2 separate regions of the Homo sapiens genome follow, and region 1 is linked to region 2. Evidence: promoter capture Hi-C in human tissues and cell types (Jung and others, 2019). All regions are on one chromosome and are shown on one strand. The core of a region is centred on a gene start or on the middle of the fragment in contact, and the rest is flanking DNA. Distances in the headings are between cores, read along the strand shown.

Evidence for each region. The method cuts DNA at HindIII sites, captures the fragments that hold promoters and counts their contacts. A contact is called where the count stands out against the background at its distance.
Region 1: a contact is called between a fragment that was not itself captured here and the fragment with the promoter of CAP1 in region 2, in 2 of the 25 tissues and cell types used here (heart left ventricle and mesendoderm cells).

Annotation. Positions count from the first base shown.
Region 1 is chr1:40,291,654-40,295,709 of GRCh38, reverse strand. ZMPSTE24 (zinc metallopeptidase STE24) reads right to left here. Exons shown (of 10, transcript NM_005857.5): 10 at 1,530-3,265. The coding sequence ends at 3,041. Among named protein-coding and RNA genes, the nearest start is that of COL9A2, 24 kb to the left of the region's middle. The HindIII fragment of the contact is 5,120 bases long and covers 1-4,056 here.
Region 2 is chr1:40,037,641-40,042,084 of GRCh38, reverse strand. It overlaps CAP1 (cyclase associated actin cytoskeleton regulatory protein 1), which reads right to left and starts at 1,356. Exons shown (of 13, transcript NM_006367.4): 1 at 1,284-1,356. It overlaps LOC105378669 (a long non-coding RNA gene), which reads left to right and starts at 1,639. Exons shown (of 3, transcript XR_001738013.3): 1 at 1,639-3,194; 2 at 3,934-3,988. RefSeq lists enhancers at 1,057-1,146, 1,217-1,416, 1,070-1,704, 1,667-1,736, 1,705-2,338. The HindIII fragment of the contact is 19,514 bases long and covers 1-4,444 here.

The DNA of each region.
Region 1 (4,056 bases), core at 571-3,070, 250 kb before region 2:
GAGTAACCCCATCTCTACTAAAAAATACAAAAATTTGCTGGGCACGGTGGCTCACCCCATAATCCCAGCACTTTGGGAGGGCAAGGTGGGCGGATCCCCTGAGGTCAGGAGTTTGAGACCAGCCTGGCCAACATGGAGAAACCCCGTCTCTATTAAAAATACAAAAATTAGCCAGGTGTATTGGCCCATGCCTGTAATCTCAGTTACTCGGGAGGCTGAAGCAGGAGAATCACTTGAACCTGGGAGGCAGAGGTGGCAGTGAGCCAAGATCATGCCACTACACTCAATCCTGGGTGACAGAGAGACAGAGAGTCTTAAAAAAAAAGAAAGAAAAGAAAAAAATACAAAAATTAGCCGGATGTGGTGGCTCACATGCCTGTAATCCCAGCTACTCAAGAGGCTGAAGCAGGAGAATCTCTTGAACCTGGGTGGTGGAGGTTGCAGTGAGCCGAGATCGCACCATTGCAGTCCAGCCTGGGCAACATGGTGAAACCCCATCTCTACTAAAAATACAAAAAATTAGCCAGGCGTGGTGGCGCAAGCCTGTAATCCTAGCTACTTGGGAGGCTGAGGCAGGAGAATCGCTTGAACCCAGGAGGCGGAGGTTGCGGTGAGCTGAGATCGGGGCATTGCACTCCAGCCTGGACAACAAGAGAGAAACTTCTTCTCAAAAAAAACAAAAACAAAAAAAGCAAGTAGAAGGTTTCCACAGGGAGGGGAATATCACATGTAGGATCAGGGGTAACAGTGAGCATATAAAATATAAGGGCAAGCGGGGACCATCATTTGGTACTAAAACCACTGAACTGATCCTGGGAATTCTCCTATCCTAAACAGAGGCAGAATTTACAAGCAGTTCTCAGACCTCAGCAAAGGGCCAACTCAGATAAAGCCAGTATATACACACAACAGAGATTCAACCTTAGATTCAGAGCTTAACTCTGCTGGAGTTGTGCCATTTTACCCAAGGCTTTGACCTACTCAATTTTGCCCCTGCTGCACATCCACCAGGTCTTTCTTAGGGTGCAGAGTGCCATCTATTCCTTCGTTGGTGGGCCTATCTACTCTTCCCTTGATTGGTCAATTTCTTAGGAACCTACCAGTATCCTTTTGGCCATCCCTATGCCTCTGCCATCCATAAAGTGTGGGTGACTAAGTCAGTCACATATTTAAAAGCTAATTACTGCCACCATATGTAAGGAAAACCAAAGAGGCAGCTGGAGCAGACCAGGCAGGCCCAACAATTTGAGGTTATAAAAATAGAGAAGGAATGATTCCAAATGAAGCTTCCAAGGAAATATCTGCAAGAACTGGTGATACTCTGGAGCAAAGCAGGAGCAAGACACTGAAGAGACTCTGTGTAAAGCACAGTGGTGGCACTGACACCACTCATCATTAGGGCTATTTCTTCATTCCACTCTTCATTGCTAGCACCCAGTTCCTCTCAGGTAATAAACATATGTTCAGGTAACAAATGATACACAAATTAAAAAAATGATACACAAATATCAAACTAAAGACAAAGTACATACATTTGCGTTGGCAATGTTTAATGTTTCACTTTTGCAGAACTGAAATTTGTATTCAAAGGCACAGAAGGAAGGAAAGGCAGTTATCAGAGCATGAAGTCACAGATAAAGGATGCTGAATAAAAGCATAGGACTGCTCCTCTTTAGCCTTAGGAAAATAAATAATGCAGTATTAAACTAGATTTTTATTTTTATTATATTTCCATGTGAAGACATCACCCAAATGTCAGCGGAGCAAAAGACTTTATGGTCAGATACCAAAGGCGTACAGTTGATCCCACTTTGGAATAAATGCCCAGAAGGTAATAAGCATTATCAGTGAGTGAGAGCTCTAGGCACAAAATAAGTTCTCATTCAGAAAGTGGACAGAGATATGAAGCAGTGAAACATATAGCTTTAAAAACTGGAAATCATTCATGACATTTGTTTTCAAAGTAAACATTATCTGCATTTCAAGAACTGTAATTTTCAAAAGTAGAATCAGGCCTGATTAAGTAATATTTATGACTTACAGATAAAATTACAAAAATAAAAATGAAAACTCTTCTGCCCTTGAAAGAGATAGAAAACTATATTTTTTTCCCTGTAATGTCACAGAGATTCATCAGTATTTCATCCTTATGTCGCTTAAAAAATGTTATTTTTAATTCGTCTTTCCTGTTCTGCCACTTTTAACATAGCAAAACGTGTTTAATATGGCCATCTCTGCTGAGTGAAAGGATGTATTATTTACTGCATGAATGAGAAGAAGCTACAATTTACCTCCAATGGGATCATATCTACCACGTGGGAAAAAAAGATAAAGACACGGATTTTCCAAAAAACAAAAGAAACAAACAAACAAAAAAACCCCACAAAACTCAATGATTTAAAATATCCTATACATAATTTCTAACTTCAAAGCACTATGAGAAACTCTTGATCACTGTGTAGCAAGAAAGGGAAGAAAGAAATTAAAAATTTGGTAGAATAGGAGAGCATTTTTCTAACTACTTTCATTTAAATAACATTGGCCTTACCAACTATTACCTTTCTTATTTAAAACACTGATTCACCAGGTGAAATCATAACAGCATGAAAGTAAGACCAGATTTCAAGTTAGGTGTGAGCACAATGATTCAGGACCACTGTTTCCACCTCACAGAAAGGATTCCTGTGGTGATGCTCCCTCTTTCAAACATATGCCCTCAAACACCTCACATGCAGATTCCATATAAGTATACAAATAAAACGAGTTCTGTATTTTTCCAAATAATTTTACAACTTGATGGTAAATTAGATGTCAAAGATAAAACTATGCCTTTAAAAACATTAAGCTTCAAAATTCATTCAGTGTTTTAAGAAATGAATTATTAAAATCATTTTTAAAATGACATATTAAATGTATTTAAATCTGGGCTTTTCTGTACTTAATTTTTCTTCTAAAAAAAAGTTTAAAAACATCAAGAGCTGGAACATGCTGCCAGGACAGAAATAATCAGAAATGTCTTCAGTCACAGATCCTGGACATCTCAGTGTTGCTTCATAGTTTTCAAAGCTTGAAGTCTCTCTAGCAGTGGAGGATGAGAATAATGCCACATTGAGAACAACCAGTCAGAAACAGGGAATCCCAAGTTATCTTTGTTAAGTTTGATTAAAGCAGAATATAAGTCTTTAGCCTTCCCAAGTTTCTTGGCAAATGCATCAGCTTGAAACTCAAATCTGCGGCTTAGGACTGTTAGGCAAAAAGAAAGAACCTGAAAAAGAAAATGAAAGGGTTTTAGCCACTGCCCACCTCTTTGTTGTTACTAAAGGTTCCATGAGCTGAGACTGTAGAGAAGTTTGGCTTGGGATAAGAGGAATGGCAGGACAAAAGAAAGATCACTAATATTTAGGGGACCTAGGGTGAGGAAATTATAAATTGAGCCTTATTCTCCCCCAAGCAAACAGGCCAGAAACACATATAAAAGTTAAACATCCCTAACCAAAAACTTGAAATCTGAAATGTTCCAAAATCTGAAACTTTTGAGTGCTGACATGAGACTCAAAAGTCATGCTCAGGCCGGGTGTGGTGCCTCACACCTGTAATCCCAGCACTTTTGGGAAGCTGAGGCAGGTGGATCACCTGAGGTCAGGAGTTCGAGACCAACCTGGCCAACATGGTGAAACCCTGTCTCTAGTAAAAATACAAAAATTAGCTGGGCGTGGTGATGGGTGCCTGTAGTCCCAGCTATTCAGGAGGCTGAGGCAGGAGAATTGCTTGAACCCGGGAGGCGGAGGTTGCAGTGAGCCAAGATGACACCCCTGCACTCCAGCCTGGGAGACAGAGCGAGACTCCATCTTAAAAAAAAAAAAAAAAAAAGAGTTTTAAGATAATACATCTCAGTTCTCTGCCAAATTTATTTTTGTTTATGTGGACAATGCTATATGAATATGATCTATGCCCCTCCATTTTTCTTTCCTGGTGTCCCCACCATACATAATAGAAAAATATAATTCATTTAGCTCATCTTAACTCTACAATCTATCCCAAGAAAGAATTCTTCTG
Region 2 (4,444 bases), core at 107-2,606:
GCCTTCACGGCGAAACCCCATCTCTACTAAAAATACAAATAAATAAATTAAATAAAAGTCTGGTAAATGATAAATGTGCTGATATGCCCCCGGATTTTCTCTTGAAGAGAGAGCCCCACAAAGAGCTTCAACTGACACAGTTCTGATGCTAACCTGTCTCAAATGTTCTCATTCCACTCTTCGAACGCATTCCTATTTATCCTTCAAAATTCATCTTAAAAACTCTGCTTCTTCAGAAGGGCTTTTCCTGAACCCCCTGTTACATACTTTCAGAGCACCCTGTTCTTTCCTAACACTCATCAACATTTATAATTACTTCTTAAACATCCCTGCAAACACTGCTAGCTCCACGCGGGCAGGGTCTACATTGTTTTGTTTTAAAGCTGCATTCCCCGCATCTGGGAAAATGCTGGCACAGAATAAACACAATTTGTTACGCTGAATTTAATCTTGTGGGGTCAGCAGAGATCTCCACTTAAAAGATGAACAAAAGGAGGCTGAAAGAAGTTTAAGGCACCTATGGCCACAGACACTCAGCACTGAGGCCAGACCAAACCTGAGCCGTCTGATTTCAGGTCCAGAAGTACATACCTTCAATGTTAGCCTGGCTTGTCAAAGTAAGAGCAGCAGCCGAGGAGGAAAGGGAGGATATCTGCCTGTAAATACAAGGATGTGCCCGCCTTTCTTTTAAAAACTCCCTAGGCATTTCAAACGGCTCAATTTGGGAGGAGAGAAAAAAAAAAGTTCCACGCAGCGCTGGCCTTTAACCTGCAGCAGCCTGCGGGGCAACACCGACCGGAAGACCATCCCAAGTTAGAGAGGTTCCGAGCAACACGGGAAGAACTGGGGCTGGTTATCTAAGGCACCAGGATCATGATTCCGATTCTTTTCCTCACTCGCTATATATCTCAGACTAGCCTCTTCTCTAGGGATCAATTTACCTATCAGTGCAATGGGAGCATCAACAGGAGACAGGGAAGACTCTCCGATCTCGGAGGTTCCTTCCAGTCAGAGCACCTCAGGAATCAGGCCTCCGCTGAAGCTGATGGGCAGCGCTGCGAAATCGGGCAGAGGGGCCTCCCCGGGGCACCCGGACTCAGCTGCTCACCCCGGCCCCACCTCAAGAGACCGCGCCCAAGAGTCCGGGTCGGCCTGAGGGCCTCAGCCCCGGCCCTCTCGGCAGGGTTCATGACACGCGCGTAGGCCAGAAGGGCCATTAACACCACCAGGGGCCGATGGGCCCCGGAAGGGACCCCAATCCCTACCAAGCTGCACACCCTCACCTCAGAGTTCCGCCTCACCTCCGGACTGCGATCAGCCGCTCTCCGCTTCCGGCAAGAACCGCCCAGCAATCTCCGCGCGACCCACTTCCGGGCCCTCACTGGGCGCGGCGCCCCCACCGGAAATGAGCCGCCGGCTGAAGCGCTAGGCTGGCCCGCGACTGGGCAGGAAGTCTCACCGCCCCGCTCGTGACTCCGCCCCTCTTCGCCACGCCCCGGAGAGAGCGGCCCGGCTCTCACAGAGGGCACTTGGGAAAGAGCCCCGCCCTCAAGGCGGGAGCGACACGGGGAGGGCGGGCTCACAAGAGAGGCCACGCCCTCGTTCCGCTTTACCTACCCGGAATCGCCCCCGAGGCCCGGGCCCAGGAAGGGCAGAAGTCCCTGGCTAAGCTCCTCTCTGGAAAGAACAGAAGAGTGACCAGTTCCTCTGTCAGTTTGGTCTCAATGGCAGAGGCCGGTTCCTTTAAGCTGCAGTCCGTAAAGGGTCTTGGAACGACTGGGGGCCAGGATTCTCTGAGGGCGGGAATCCGGGCGGCCGTCAGCTCTCGGTGGTGATCGAGGCCACGCTCCGCCTGTCTCTGGGCGTGCATACCTCGGTTTCCCCGTTTGTGACGTGGGAAGGCAATTAGTCTGGACATTGTTGTGGGAGGACTTGCGGAGACTGGGCGCAGGGCGTGGGGGTCAGTGAGGGCGCGGTGGGTCAGCCCCAGCCCGGCTGGCAGTCGCGGGGCTGGGAAGGTAGGGAACCCTCCGCTCTCACCCCACTTCCTGTTTGGTCGGTGTGTTCTGTGACCATAGATGGTCAAGTCTGGGGCCGCGCGGAAGCCTCCGCCCTGTGGTTTTGGAGCCCTTCCTCCCGGCGCGCAGGGTGTGGTCCCCGAGAATAAGATGAGCAGAATTAAAGCAGATCCTGCACCCACTCTGCTGAAATCCGGCTTCTGAGGCAGCCTCGCCCAGGGCTGGGTGGGCTCAGGCGGCTGCTACTCGGTTCAGGGGAGGTTACGCACGGTGGCTGCCGCGCGCAGGGGAGGCTTCGCTTCCGTACTCCTTGGGCCGGGAGATCCGATCTTTGTTCCCTCAAGACTCACACTCTCCAACCGGTCATTATCCTCCCACAAAGATTTATTTCTAGAAAAAATTGGCAAGTGCCACAGTTCCCGCCCCTTCAGCTGAACGACTGTGACAGCTCCGTGTTTCAAGTTGAATGCAGGCGTTATGTGCCAGAGTCAATCATTCAACAAATAAAGTTCTTAAAATAACAGCTACCATTTACTGCACGCTGACTACTTGCCAGGCCCATGCTGAGTTCTTCAAGCGTATTTTCATTTACTCCTAATAGCAACTCTCGGTGGTAGGTACCATTATGCCCTCTAGTTTTCAAATGAGGAAGCTGAATAACTTGCCAAGGTCAGAAAGTAACTGTTGAAACTTTGAAGGAAACACATCTGTCTGACTCTAAATCCCATGAGCTTAATTAGCCCCTGTGATAGACCATACTGCAGACATTTGAGGCAGATTTGAGGTGGTGAATGCCTCTGGATCTGGAGACACTGGGTTCCAGTGCTGGCATAGGCCCTCTACTAGGGGTCAGACTTTGGTCAGGTTACTTTGGACGGGTTACTGGGCCTCTTCCTAACTTTATGGCTCCCAGCATGTTTAAAAGAACATGACAACATGAAAAAATATGGTATAAAAGTCATAGTATATTTTAAATATTGACATTTAACTAAAAACACTGTCTCACACACACACAAACTCTAACTTTATTTGGACATAATCTTTGACTCTGCATTTAGTTATTCTAAATCTCTTTCTGGATTAGAGACAGAAGGAACATAGACCATACACGCATTCTAGAGGAAGAGGAGAGAGAAGAGGAAGCAGGAAGGAGAATGAAGAAAGTTTCCTCATCAGGTGGGGAATATTAATGGGGCTGTAATGAGAAACGGAAGCAGTAATGTATGTGAAACCACTTTGTAAAATGCTTCATTATAAAGAATGCACACACGACTTAAGTTACAACCCCTGCCCTAAGGAATGTCCAGTCTTTTAAGAAGTCTAGATCCATGCATTTGTAACTCCAGTAGGAGATGGGAAGATAGTTTAAGAATATCCGTCACATGAAGGGCTGGGCGCGGTGGCTCACACCTGTAATCCCAGCATTTTGGGAGGCCGAGGCGGGCAGATAACGAGGTCAAGAGATCAAGACCAGCCTGGCCAATATGGTGAAACCCCGTCTCTACTAAAAAATACAAAAATTAGCTGGGCGTGGTGGCATGCGCCTGTAGTCCCAGCTATTTGGGAGGCTGAGGCAGGAGAATCGCTTGAACCCGGGAGGCAGAGGTTGCAGTAAGCTGAGATCGTGCTTCTCTACTCTAGCCTGGCGACAGAGTGAGACTCTGTCTCAAAAAAATAAATAAAAGAATATCTGTCACATGTATTTATGCACTGAAAAAAAACTATTGAGCTACATAGTAGCAATTATTGGAAGAGTTCAATAATTGCTATGCTACTTTGTACCAAGCACAACTAGGGATCCAGCAGTGGACAAGTCAGACCCTGTTACTGCTCTCATGGAGCTTACAGTCTATTTTGGAAATGATATTTCCATTTGGAGTGGTCATCAGAAGATACGCTGCCTTCTGTCTTCCAGCTTTTTCCTCCTCGCTGATCTTGCCCCTTGTCCAGTACCCAGTGCTTCATCCATGGTGAGTTCTCATCTAGCACATGTTCAGTGAGTGCCTTGAATTCAGAATAGTCATTTCCTAGGCAGAGATGGACAGATAGATCCTTGCAGAGCAAACATGAATGAACAGTAGTGGAGATGGGAATCTGTGCTGGACTGAGGTGAGAGGTTCCTGCAGGAGAAAAGTAGGAGATAAGGCTGAAGAAAAGGAGGTTGAGCAAACTATGCTAGGCAAGAGAGGTCAAACCTTAATGTGAAAGCGAGGAGGCACTAGTCATACTGTATTTTAGAAATAAAAATCTAGCTACAGTGTAGGGCATGGCCTTCAGTGGGCAACAAAAGAGGCAGGGAGAACTGCTAGAAGATAAGCACAAAGATCTAATAAGAATCTGAATCGGCCAGGCGCGGTGGTTCACACCTGTAATCCCAGCATTTTGGGAGGCCGAGGTGGGCGGATCACCTGAGGTCAGGAGTTCGA